Linked DNA regions of Homo sapiens: region 1 is linked to region 2. The links are contacts of gene promoters, found by promoter capture Hi-C in blood cells and fetal thymus (Javierre and others, 2016). All regions are on one chromosome and are shown on one strand. The core of a region is centred on a gene start or on the middle of the fragment in contact, and the rest is flanking DNA. Distances in the headings are between cores, read along the strand shown. Region 1 holds the start of SV2A (synaptic vesicle glycoprotein 2A). Region 2 overlaps LINC02988 (long intergenic non-protein coding RNA 2988).

What was found. The method cuts DNA at HindIII sites, captures the fragments that hold promoters and counts their contacts. A CHiCAGO score of 5 or more calls a contact.
Region 1: the fragment with the promoter of SV2A here is called in contact with a fragment that was not itself captured in region 2 in 4 of 17 cell types (monocytes, activated CD4 T cells, M0 macrophages and 1 more); the score reaches 8.0 in monocytes.

Annotation. Positions count from the first base shown.
Region 1 is chr1:149,914,878-149,920,507 of GRCh38, forward strand. SV2A (synaptic vesicle glycoprotein 2A) reads right to left here and starts at 2,967. Exons shown (of 13, transcript NM_014849.5): 1 at 2,862-2,967. RefSeq lists a silencer at 2,811-2,880. The HindIII fragment of the contact is 16,072 bases long and covers 1-5,630 here.
Region 2 is chr1:150,172,238-150,177,927 of GRCh38, forward strand. It overlaps LINC02988 (long intergenic non-protein coding RNA 2988), which reads left to right. Exons shown (of 4, transcript NR_135098.1): 3 at 1,493-1,577. Among named protein-coding and RNA genes, the nearest start is that of LINC02988, 14 kb to the left of the region's middle. RefSeq lists a silencer at 1,112-1,406. The HindIII fragment of the contact is 3,464 bases long and covers 1,102-4,565 here.

The sequences.
Region 1 (5,630 bases), core at 1,717-4,216, 260 kb before region 2:
TGATGAATAAATATTAATTATTAATTTTGTGGTGACAGTAATATAGTGAAATGCCCTATACTACCTCATAAGGTCCCCAGATGAAAGCTATCTTGGATGCTCTTTAGGGTGAGCAGCAGGAAGGGACACTGGCAAGGAGAATCCTGGTTCAGGGCAAAGCACATGACTGTTAGGGGTGACCTAAGTTGAAATCCCAACTCTGCCACTTACTAACTGATCTCAGTCAGGGTAGTTAACCTCCCTAAGCCTCAGTGTCCATCTATTTTAACTGGGGATAATTAAATTGGGAGACTGTTTCTTGGAGTTGATGTGAGAATGTAATCTCACAGTAGATACTCTATGTTAGTTTTCTTCCTTCCTATGATGTTGAAAGTGGGAAAGAAACAGGAAGCAGCAAGGGACAACAGGGGGGTCATACTTAGATGCTGTTGCCCAGCATCCTTGCAAACAGAGTCCCAAGACACCCCTATCTATGTTTCAACTAATTCCAGTAGCTGGGCCCACATTAACTACCTCCAGAAGAACAAGGGAAGATCCAGAAAAGGGGGACCTGGAACCCAAGTAAAGTGGAGGAAAGATGGAAAGCTAAGAAAGAGGTGATGACTGTCCACTGCCACCTTGCTTCAGAATGTCATAGATAGGCCCCCTTTCCACAGATGGGGGTGAGAATGGAAATGACTGTCAAATGCATACATTTCCAACATGAGGTTCTAAGGCCTACAGTTGCATCCCATCCCTCCAGGGCCTCCCTTCCTAATCCCCCTTAATCCTTTCTGCTCCTCCTCCAGGAGTCAAGGAAGAAGGAGTCCACAAACACCGCATTGCGTAGGAGGCGGATGTAGAATAAAGGGGGTTTGGGTGTCCCCCCAAAAAAGACATTCTCCAGAGGAAGGCATGGGATAGCCCCCTTCCTTCATAGGAGCAGAGGAAGCAGGCCTAGATTCTGATCAGAAATCATCCCCCTAAAAATATCCTGCCTCCGGTGCTCCCACCCATCCAGGGCCTTCATTAAAACACACACACACACACACACACGCACACACACACACACGCCCTGGTAGAAGACGGTAAGCAATGCTATGTGGTTCAGAGAGAAGCACTGGCAAGCAGCGCCTTATCCCCTCAGGACAGATGTAAGCAGTGGACCACGGTGACCAGAAGCAGTGACCCCTATGTCACCTTTTCTTCATGGTTCAGGGCCCAACCATCCCCCATGAAAGAGCTGGAACTGCGGAATCCCCTCAGCGCATGGCAATTTGCTAGCTTTCCTCTCTTTCCTAACCAGGATCTCCCCTCCAGCCCTGAAGGAGGCAGGACCCACCAGGAGCCATACTCTATGTTTGTTGACCCTATTTCCCCCTGAGAGGGGCACGTAGGGCAGGGAAGCCTTCCACAACCACAGCAGGATATGAGGTCTCAACAGCCAGCTTCCTCAGGGCCAGCAAGCCCAGGAGGTCAGGAGAGAAAGAAAGAAGACAAATTCTTTGAGCTGGTGAGGAAGTGGTGCTATTTTTAGCCCCCAAAACAGCACAGGGTGGCTAAGCCTGGGGGAGTGAGACAAGACTTGGAGAGGTGGAGGTTAAAGGAGACAAGGTTCAGGGTTACAAGGTCCTAGGCTGGCTGACTTCACCTGACAGGAAAAAATGTGCCCAGGAGATTTTCTGCAGAGGGTGGAGACAGGCAGGGGACTCCAGAGCAAATGCTTTCTTTCAGAACAGCTCATCCAGCCCTGGGTCCAGAACCCCCCACCCTCCCAGTCAAAGCCCCTGACTTTGGGGTCCACCCAGATCCCCAGGCCTTCCTAGCTCAGGTGACAAGGTCATTAAAAAGCAATCACTTATCAAAACGTCCGCGGGGGCGGGGGTAGAATGTGGGAGGTGCGGGAGCACCCCTTCCCCATGACAGCCCGGTCATCGAACTTCAGCCCCCACCCAGGACCATCAAGACTGCGCCTCCCCTCCCCACATCCTACCAAGGTTAGGAAGATAGGAGCACCCACAGTTCTGAGGGATAAAAATGAGGGTGTCAGCTGAGAATGCACACTGAGGAATACGGAGAGGCAGAGAGGGGGACGCAGGGAGAGACCTCCGCATGCACAGACATAGAGACCGCCCCTATCAGCATTTGCAGCGACCCCCCCACACCCCATCTTGCCTCAGCTCCGGAATAAGGGAAAAGCCCCCAGAACTGACTAAATCCCTGCTCTGAGCACCTCCTCCACCCTTGGTCCTGCTGCTAGACAAGTGTCCACCTTCACTCAACATCCCTTCCCCCCACCCCGGAGCAACTGCCGCCAGCCCCCGCCATCCATGCCCCCAACACCTGGCGGCTCTACATCTCTGTCTCCCCAGTATTTCCATTCTTCACTCCCCTTCCCTCCATCCTTCACCTGCCCTTCTTCCCCTGCCCCCCACCCACCCAAGTCCAGGCGTGCACACTGAGGCAGCATCCATTCTCCAGCCCCAGCCAAGGTCATTTATCATTCATCCTGGGGGTGGGGGGACGTCAAGGTGAGGAGGGGATAGGAGTTTGAGGGAACCTCATCCCACCTCACAACCCCACCACCACGTTAATCTCCGAAGGGGATAGTGGGGACTTGGTTAAGGTAGAGAAAAACACCCCTCCTCCCCATTCACCAATATTATACATATGCGTGTGTGTGTGTGTGTCCTGAAGAGCACAACTGAAATAAATGTCCATCCCCAAACCACCACCAACCCACCAACCCCCCTCACCCCTAGAGAGGGGATCGTCACCCTCCCCATAAGCAAAGCATCGGAGGATAAAATGGCTGCAAGGCAAGGCAAAGATGCTTCTGCCAGGGGCGGGGAGGAGGTGAGCGACTGAGAAAGGGGTCTCACCTGGTCTAGGTTCCCCGGGTAAGGAGTCCCGGGCGAGGACGGGGGTCCCGGCCGCGGGCGGAGGCGGCAGCGGCGACTGCTCCCGGCACCAGGGAAGCGGCAATGCAGACCTGCCACCCCCCTTCCACCACTCCAGCCCCGCCTCCGCCCCCCCCTACCCCGCGCCACTGAGCATCGGGAGAGACCATTGGTGGGGAGAGGAGAAAAGAGGATGGGGAGGGAGTCAGGGCACGGGGAGAAATGATGAAAGGGCCGGAGGTTGTCACAAGAACAGCTGGAAATGGCACCCAGCCCTTCCCAGGCCCTTCCTAGTAAAAGATAGAAGGAACTAAAGAAAAAAACAGTGATGTTAGGAAGACAAGTGGGAAGACAGGGAGATGGGGAATGTGGCAGCCCCTTCCTTAGCACCCCAGTCTCAGTATGGCAGGACCCAATAATTTCAGGGGCTTTTGCTGCCTTCAAAACACCTCCCTTGCCTTCTCCACTGCTCTCAAACTCCTTTTTCACAACAGTCTCCCAAATCCAGAGTGCTCCTATTCCAAGTTTACCTGGACATTTTAGAGAAAGCAGAGATAACAAGGTGTGGTTTCTATCCTGAACTGCCAGAGTCAGAGACCCCTGGATTCCTTCCATCTCTTTCCTCACAAAACAGTCCAGGTTACTTATTTACAGTGGACACCTCCTCATCCTGTCCATTCAGTTGGTGGTAGCAGAAGTACTGGGGAAGTTGAGGGATTTTTACAGACCTGACCAACCGGACAGTTCCCCTTCCATTAATTTGCTCCAATGACTCAAAAAGGATCCTCTCAATACCCTTCTCCATTTTCTCTTACTCTCCTCTACCTCCCTCCCCTCCCCTCCACACACTTGTACTTCCCGGGCAGGAAGAAGTAAATTGTTTCAGCTTTTCCCTTCATCTTTCCTTTGCTCTTGCATCAATAACCTGGACTCAGAGATCCAAGACATGCCACTTGGTGACACTTGATGACCATCCCTGCCGAAGGAGTGAGAGGGAATATGGTGATTTGGGGAAATACATCCTGAATGTGTCTATGCCAGATAAGGTCAGGACCTTCCAGACAGCACTGACCTGGGCTTGGACCTGGGTTCTCACTGCTAACAAGCTGTCAACTCTTGGTCAAGTTCTCCACATCTGTGAACTTCAGGTTTCTCATCTGGAAAAGGGGGGCTTGGACTAGATACTGCATCAGGTCCCTCTCAGATCTAATAGCGTGTGATTCTGCCTTACTAAATGTGGAGGCTTCAGAATGCTGATATATATACATGGAGAAGGCTGACAGGCTATGTCCGAAGAGACCACACAGGTAACATTTGCCAGGTTGAATTTACCTCTGACAGGGACACGGGCCTGGGCTTTGCAGACTCCAAAGCTGGATCTTGGAAATAATCATTCATGCCAACAAAGTTCACAATCTTCTGAAATATAAAGCCATAATACATAAATATTAATTTATCATAAATATTTAACTGTCACTCAGACTGAAAACTCATATCTACATGTCTAGTACATTCTCTCCCTGAAGCCAAATCAGAATCATAATGTCAATGTATAAATGCACAATGACATTACTGGAGGATTTGTATCTTTAATGGCATCTGGCCATCTGCAATAAGCAGCCATGCCAATGGGTCCAGAAAACTCTTCTTGGCAACAATCTTCTACCCCCACCTCTTTGCTATTGGCAGCCTTGCCAGCACTCCTGGACTACTCTGAATGTGACGGCTTTCCAGGATGGTGCTTGGACTGGCCTCAGGGACTCTCCCTTTACTAGACTTTCATTGCTGACCCGTCTTCAGGTTAACACACATTCTTTTTCTTTTTTTTTTTTTTTTTGAGACAGAGTCTCACTCTGTCGCCCAGGCTGGAGTGCAGTGGCGCAATCTCAGCTCACTGTAACCTCCACCTCCGGTGTTCAAGTGATTCTCCTGCCTCAGCCTTCCCAGTAGCTGGGACTACAGGCACGAGCCACCACACCCAGTTAACTTTTTTTTTTTTTTTTGAGACAGAGTCTTGCTCCGTCGCCCAGGCTGGAGTGCAGTGGCACAATCTCGGCTCACTGCAAGCTCCGCCTCCCGGGTTCATGCCATTCTCCTGCCTCAGCCTCCCGAGTAGCTGGGACTACAGGTGCCCGCCACCACACCCGGCTAATTTTTTGTATTTTTAGGAGAGACGGGGTTTCACTGTGTTAGCCAGGATGGTCTCGATCTCCTGACCTTGTGATCCGCCCGCCTCAGCCTCCCAAAGTGCTGGGATTACAGGCGTGAGCCACTGCGCCTGGCTAACTTTTGTATTGTTAATGGAGACAGGGTTTCACCGTGTTGGCCAGGCTGCTCTCGAACTCCGGACCTCAAGTGATCCACTCACCTCTGCCTCCCAAAGTGCTGGGATTACAGGCGTGAGCCACCGCACCCAGCCAAATATGTTAACATTTTCAATTAGGTTATAGCCAAGTCCAGCAGGAGAGCATTTGGCCAGCAGGGAGCCATTTCTTCCCTTTAAGGTGACTTTGCCTACTCTCCACTGATACCTTATTTGCTAAAATAGAAATCTTGCATACTTTTAGAGTGAAAACTTATACCATCAGTCCTCCATATCCATGGGTTTGGCATCCATGGATTCAACCAACTGTGGATGGAAAATGTAGTTAGGCCTATGATGGTTGCATTTGTACTGAACATGTATAGACATTCTCCTCTTGACATTTATTTCCTAAACAATACAGTATAACAACTACTTGCATAGTATTT
Region 2 (5,690 bases), core at 1,584-4,083:
CTCTTTATTTTCTCTCTCCCTGGGTAGAATAGAAGCCCGCACAGGGTGGGGCCCTGACTTATCTCCCCACACCTAAACTCAATCTTTATTTGTGTAATGAATGATTGAAGAAAGCCTTACCTAACACATGTACATCTCCACCACATTATCCCCACCATTTAGTTCCATTGTAATAAAAGTAATACCTTTTGATGGTCCTTTACAGTTTTAGATAGCATGTTCTTGTTTGCCATCAATAGCTCTCTCACACACACACTATTTAATTTTTGATCTTCATAATTAACCCTGTGAAGAAAATAGGACAAGTATGACCCCCAAATTAAGGATTAGAAAAATTGAAGCCGGCCAGGCATGGTGGCTCACGCCTGTAATCCCAGCACTTTGGAAGGCCGAGGCGGGTGGATCACTTGAGGTCAGGAGTTTGAGACCAGCCTGGCCAACATGGTGAAACTCCATCTCTACTAAAAATACAAAAAAAATTAGCCGGGCGTGGTGGCGGGCACCTATAACCCCAGCTACTCGGGAGGCTCAGGCAGGAGAATCAGGTGAACCTGGGAGGCGGAGGTTGCAGTGAGCTGAGATCGTGCCATTGCACTCCAGCCTGGGTGACAGAGCAAGAATCTGTACTTAAAAAAAAAAAAAAAAAAAAAATGAAATCGAGAGAAGTAACCAAGGTAGAAAGTGTCAAAAAGTGTCAAAATCAAAATCTAAAAGCAGGCTTTGGGAAATGCAGTGATGTCTGACCCCAACTGCCTGGATTCAGGCCAGACTTCACAGGGTAAGGAACAGTCCTCCACTTCAGGCCACTCTCACTTCAGACACCAGTAGCCAGTTCAGGGGTTGGTTCCACTACCCCTGCAGGTTTGATAATTTGCTACAATGACTCACAGAACTCAGGAAAGCACTATACTTATGATAAGTTAAACTTTTATTGCAGCAAAAGGGTACAAATCAGAACCAGCCAAGAGAAGAGATACAGAGGGCAAAGTCTGGGAAGAGCTACACGGGAAGCTTTGGGCACCTTCTCCTGTGGAGTTCCAGACATCACTGCCCCTCCCTGCTACGAGGTGTGGCAGTGCTTGCGAGTGCTGCCACCAGGAAAGCTTGCCCGAGTCTTTGGTGTCCAGAGCCCTTGCTGGAGCTTGACCACATGCTGCCTGCATGACTGACCTTTGCTCTCCAGTCCCTATGGGGGCTGGAACTGATATGGCGTGTTTCGGAGCCCCCATTATAAATCACATCATTTGAGCATCTGGTGGCCAAACTCCTCAGGCAAACAATGACATTCCTATTGGGCAGGACATTCCAGAGGCCTAGAGATCATCTCCCAGTAGCCGAGGGCCAAAGCCAGACCTCTCTTTGGGTAAAATCAATTCTTCACTACACAGGGGAGTTTTACCTTTTGTTTTTTTTAATTCGAGATCGAGTGCTATAACACACTGTTCTGTTTAATCTTTGCTCTCTTCTTTGACCTGTTTCTTCTCTTTCCAAGTTGGCTTCAGGTCACATGTTGCTCTGGAGAACCGAGAAGGGTGAGCAGACACCAATCATGACCCCAAACAGCAAGAGGACAGAAGGTAAGTGAAGTCTTTATGATCAAGCAAGAAATATTCTGTTTACAATGGAAATTATTATAAATTATCTTTTTTTACATGACATTGAAATGAGTTCTAGTAAATGTATCTGTTAGTAAGGAAAAGACCAAAGCAATGCCGGGCAGTGATGTCAAAGTAACATAATACTGTAATCTACTTGACATTCTCTGATAATATACCACAACACTGCAGCCTATAATTTCCTACAGATTAATATGCCAAGAAGGTGCCAGTTACTTATTGAAATGTAAAATTCAGATGATTTCACTGGTGTGTGGTGGGAGCTTATGCACATGGGTATATAAACGTGTGGCTGCTTTCTCTCTTATTTCACAAAAGTCCATTGCGGGTTTTTTGTTCGTTTGTTTGAGATGGAGTCTCGCTCTGTTGCCCAGGCTGGAGTGCAGTGGCATGATCTCTGCTCACTGCACCCTCCGCCTCCTGGGTTCAAGCGATTTTCCTGCCTCAGCCTCCTAAGTAGCTGGGATTACAGGCATGCGCCATCACACCTGGCTAATTTTTTTGTATTTTTAGTAGAGATTGGGTTTCACCATGTTGGCCAGGCTGTTCTCGAACTCCTAACCTCATGATCTGCTTACCTAAGCCTCCCAAAGTGCTGGGATTATAGGCTTGATCCACCACGCCCAGCCTTCATTGTGATTATTAATTTTGGAGTACAAGCTGTCATCACACTGTCATCAAAAACATTTATTAAGTCTCCAAATTGCAAAGTATGTTTTGTTTTTGTAACTGTTTATTTACCTTTCTCCCAACTAGATGGTGAGCAGTTTACACAGGTGCTCAACAAATGTATTTTAATGAATGTCTACAAGAGGTTAACTAATTTGAATTTTTAAAAAAAATTACCCGAGGTGGGCGGATCACGAGGTCAGGAGATCGAGACCATCCTGGCTAACACGGTGAAACCCTGTCTCTACTAAAAATACAAAAAATTAGCCGGGAGAGGTGGCGGGCACCTGTAGTCCCAGCTACTCGGGAGGCTGAGGCAGGAGAATGGCGTAAACCCCGGGGGACAGAGCCTGCAGTGAGCCGAGATCGTGGCACTGCACTCCAGCCTGGGCGACAGCGAGACTCCATCTCAAAAAAAAAAAAAATTACACAGCACAATAGAAGCATAATAAAAGTATAACAACAATAATGAACCTATAAGAAGGCATTGAAGTTGCTGCCCAGAAAGTCAGTTTCCCGTTCCAGCTCTGCTCCTTGGTTGTTTGACATTGGGCAGGTCTCAATTCTCACATCTATTTCCTCATCTGAAAAACAGAATAACTCATGTTTGCTCTACTTACCCAGGAGGCTACTGTAAGAATCAAATGAATCCATCAATTTTAAGGTGTTTTACAAACGATGAAGTATTTTGCTGATGTTATTATTTCTTTTTGTTGTTGCTGTTTTGAGACGGAGTCTCACTCTGTCACCCAGGCTGGAGTGCCGTGGTGCCATCTCAGCTCACTGCAACCTCTGCCTCCCAGGCTGAAATGATTATCCTGCCTCAGCCTCCCAAGTAGCTGGAACTACAGGCACCCACCACCATACCCAGCTAATTTGTGTGTTTTTAGTAGAGACAGGGTTTCGCCATGTTGTCCAGACTGGCCTCGAACTCCTGGCCTCAGGTGATCCACCTACCTCGGCCTCCCAAAGTGCTGAGATTACAGGTGTGACCCACCGCGCCCGGCCTGCTGATGTTATTATTTCAACAGAAAAATTATTTTAGAAGTGGCATGCATTTTACTAGGATGCAAAACATGATTGGGGAAACAGACTCAAGAATTCTAAACCTAGGCAGATTGAGGTCAGGGAAGGTACCTCTCATCTCTTTAGTCTTGAAGTAGTCTAGAAGTAATCTACTCCTGGTCTCTGCTGTTTATTATTTGTCTTCTTTGAGCTTCAGTTTCTTTTTTTTTCTTTTTTTTTTTTTGTAGACAAGAGTCTTACTCCGTTGCCCAGGCCAGAGTGCAATGGCACGATCTCGGCTCACTGCAACCTCCACCTCCTAGGTTGAAGCGATTTTTCTGCCTCAGCCTCCTGAGTAGCTGGGATTACAGGCACCTGCCACCATGCCCGGCTAATTTTTGTATTTTTACTAGAGACGGGGTTTCACCATGTTGGCCAGGCTGCTCTCGAACTTCTGACCTCAGGTGATCCACCCATCTCAGCCTCCCAAAGTGCTGGGATTACAGACATGAGACATGGCACCTGGATCTTTTTTTTTTTTTGAGACAAGGTCTCACTCTCGCCCAGGCTGGAGTGCAGTGGTGCGATCTCAGCTCACTGCAGTCTCCGCCTCCTGGGCTCAAGGAATTCTCATGCCTCAGCCTCATGAGTAGCTGGGATTACATGCGTGTGCCACCACACCTGACTAACTTTCATATTTTTGGTAGAGACGGGGTTTCACCATGTTGGCCAGGATGGTCTTGAACTCCTGACCTCAAGTGATCCTCCCACCTTGGCCTCCCAAAATGCTGGGATTACAGGTGTGAGCCACTGTGCCCGGCCCTCAGTTTCTTTATATCATTCTCTCTGAGCCTCGTTTATGTTATATGTAACATGGTGATAAAATGTGCCTTGCCCCAGAAGGTTTGCTAGGGGGTTCAAATTAGATGATTGTTGCTAAGGTCTCTGTGACAGCTATAAAGTACTATACAAATGTAAAAAAATCTTGTATGAATTACCTGAAGGTGATGAGCTTTCAGAGACAGTTTCAGTAAAGCACACAGGCTGAGAGTATGGGAGGCTAACATTGGCAGTCACATCCCAGGAAAGAATAGAACATTTTGGTATCTATTATCTTGGGTTGGATTACACATTGCCTTAGGAACTCCATTGTGACAAGGCCTTGCAAAAAAGTAAAATGAAACATAGGCCCTTTCACATACATTGGCTCAATAAATCTTCCCAACACTGTGCCAAGTGGGAATTATGATGCCCATTTGACTGATGGGGAACTGAAGCTTGGAGATGTTGAAACATACCCAAGATTATGCAACTGGCAGATGGCTGCATCAAAACAAATTTCTCCAACTCCAGCAGAAAAGTTAAGAGCATGCTTACATGAAAAGGAAGAGCTGGCCGGGCGCGTGGCTCACACCTGTAATCCCAACACTTTGGGAGGCTGAGGCAGGTGGATCACCTGAAGTCAGGAGCTTGAGACCAGCCTGACCAACATGGAGAAACCCCATCTCTACTAAAAATACAAAAAAAGAAAAAATTATCTGGGCGTGGTGTTGCATGCCTGTAACTCGGGAGGCTGAGGCAGGAGAATCATTTGAACCCAGGAGGCAGTGGTTGCTGTGAGCCGAGATCAGACCGTTGCACTCCAGCCTGGGCAACAAGAATGAAACTCCGTCTCAAAAAAAAAAAAAAAAAAAAAAAAGAAAAGGAAGAGCTAGTCGGGGGTGGCCTTAAACAAATGGCCCATTTCTCATTCCTCCCTGACACAACTTTCTACCCAAGCCAGCAAACATTTTCTTTCACAAATACTTCTTTTCTCTTTTTTTTTTTTTTTTTGTTAGACGGAGTCTCACTCTGTCACCCAGGCTGGAGTGTAGTGGCACAATCTCAGTTCACTGTAACCTCCACCTCCCTGGTTCCAGCAATTCTCCTGCCTCAGCCTCCCAAGTAGCTGGGTTTATAGGTGCATGCCACCGTGCCCGGCTAATTTTTGTATTTTTAGTAGAGACAGCGTTTCACCAAGTTGGCCAGGCTGGTCTCAAACTCCTGACCTTGTGATCCACCTGCCTCGGCCTCCCAACATTCTGGGATTACAGGCATAAGCCACCGCGCCCGGCCAGTACTTCATATTTCTTACTATGGCTGGGGTTCCCAGAGAAACAACTATGACAACAGGTGGATTTAGGATACAACAGGGTGACGTCTGTGCACGGGCAGGAAGGCATTTTTACTGGAGCGGAGTATGATCAATGTTCACAGCTGTGGCAGCCTGCTCCCCTGAAAGATCTTTAATTGGAGAAGAAGTGGCTATAGCCAGCTTCACTCTGACCCTGTTAGAAATGCCCAGTTCTTAAGTCACATCCCAATTCTACACATAGACTCAAGGGTTTGCAGAAACACCCA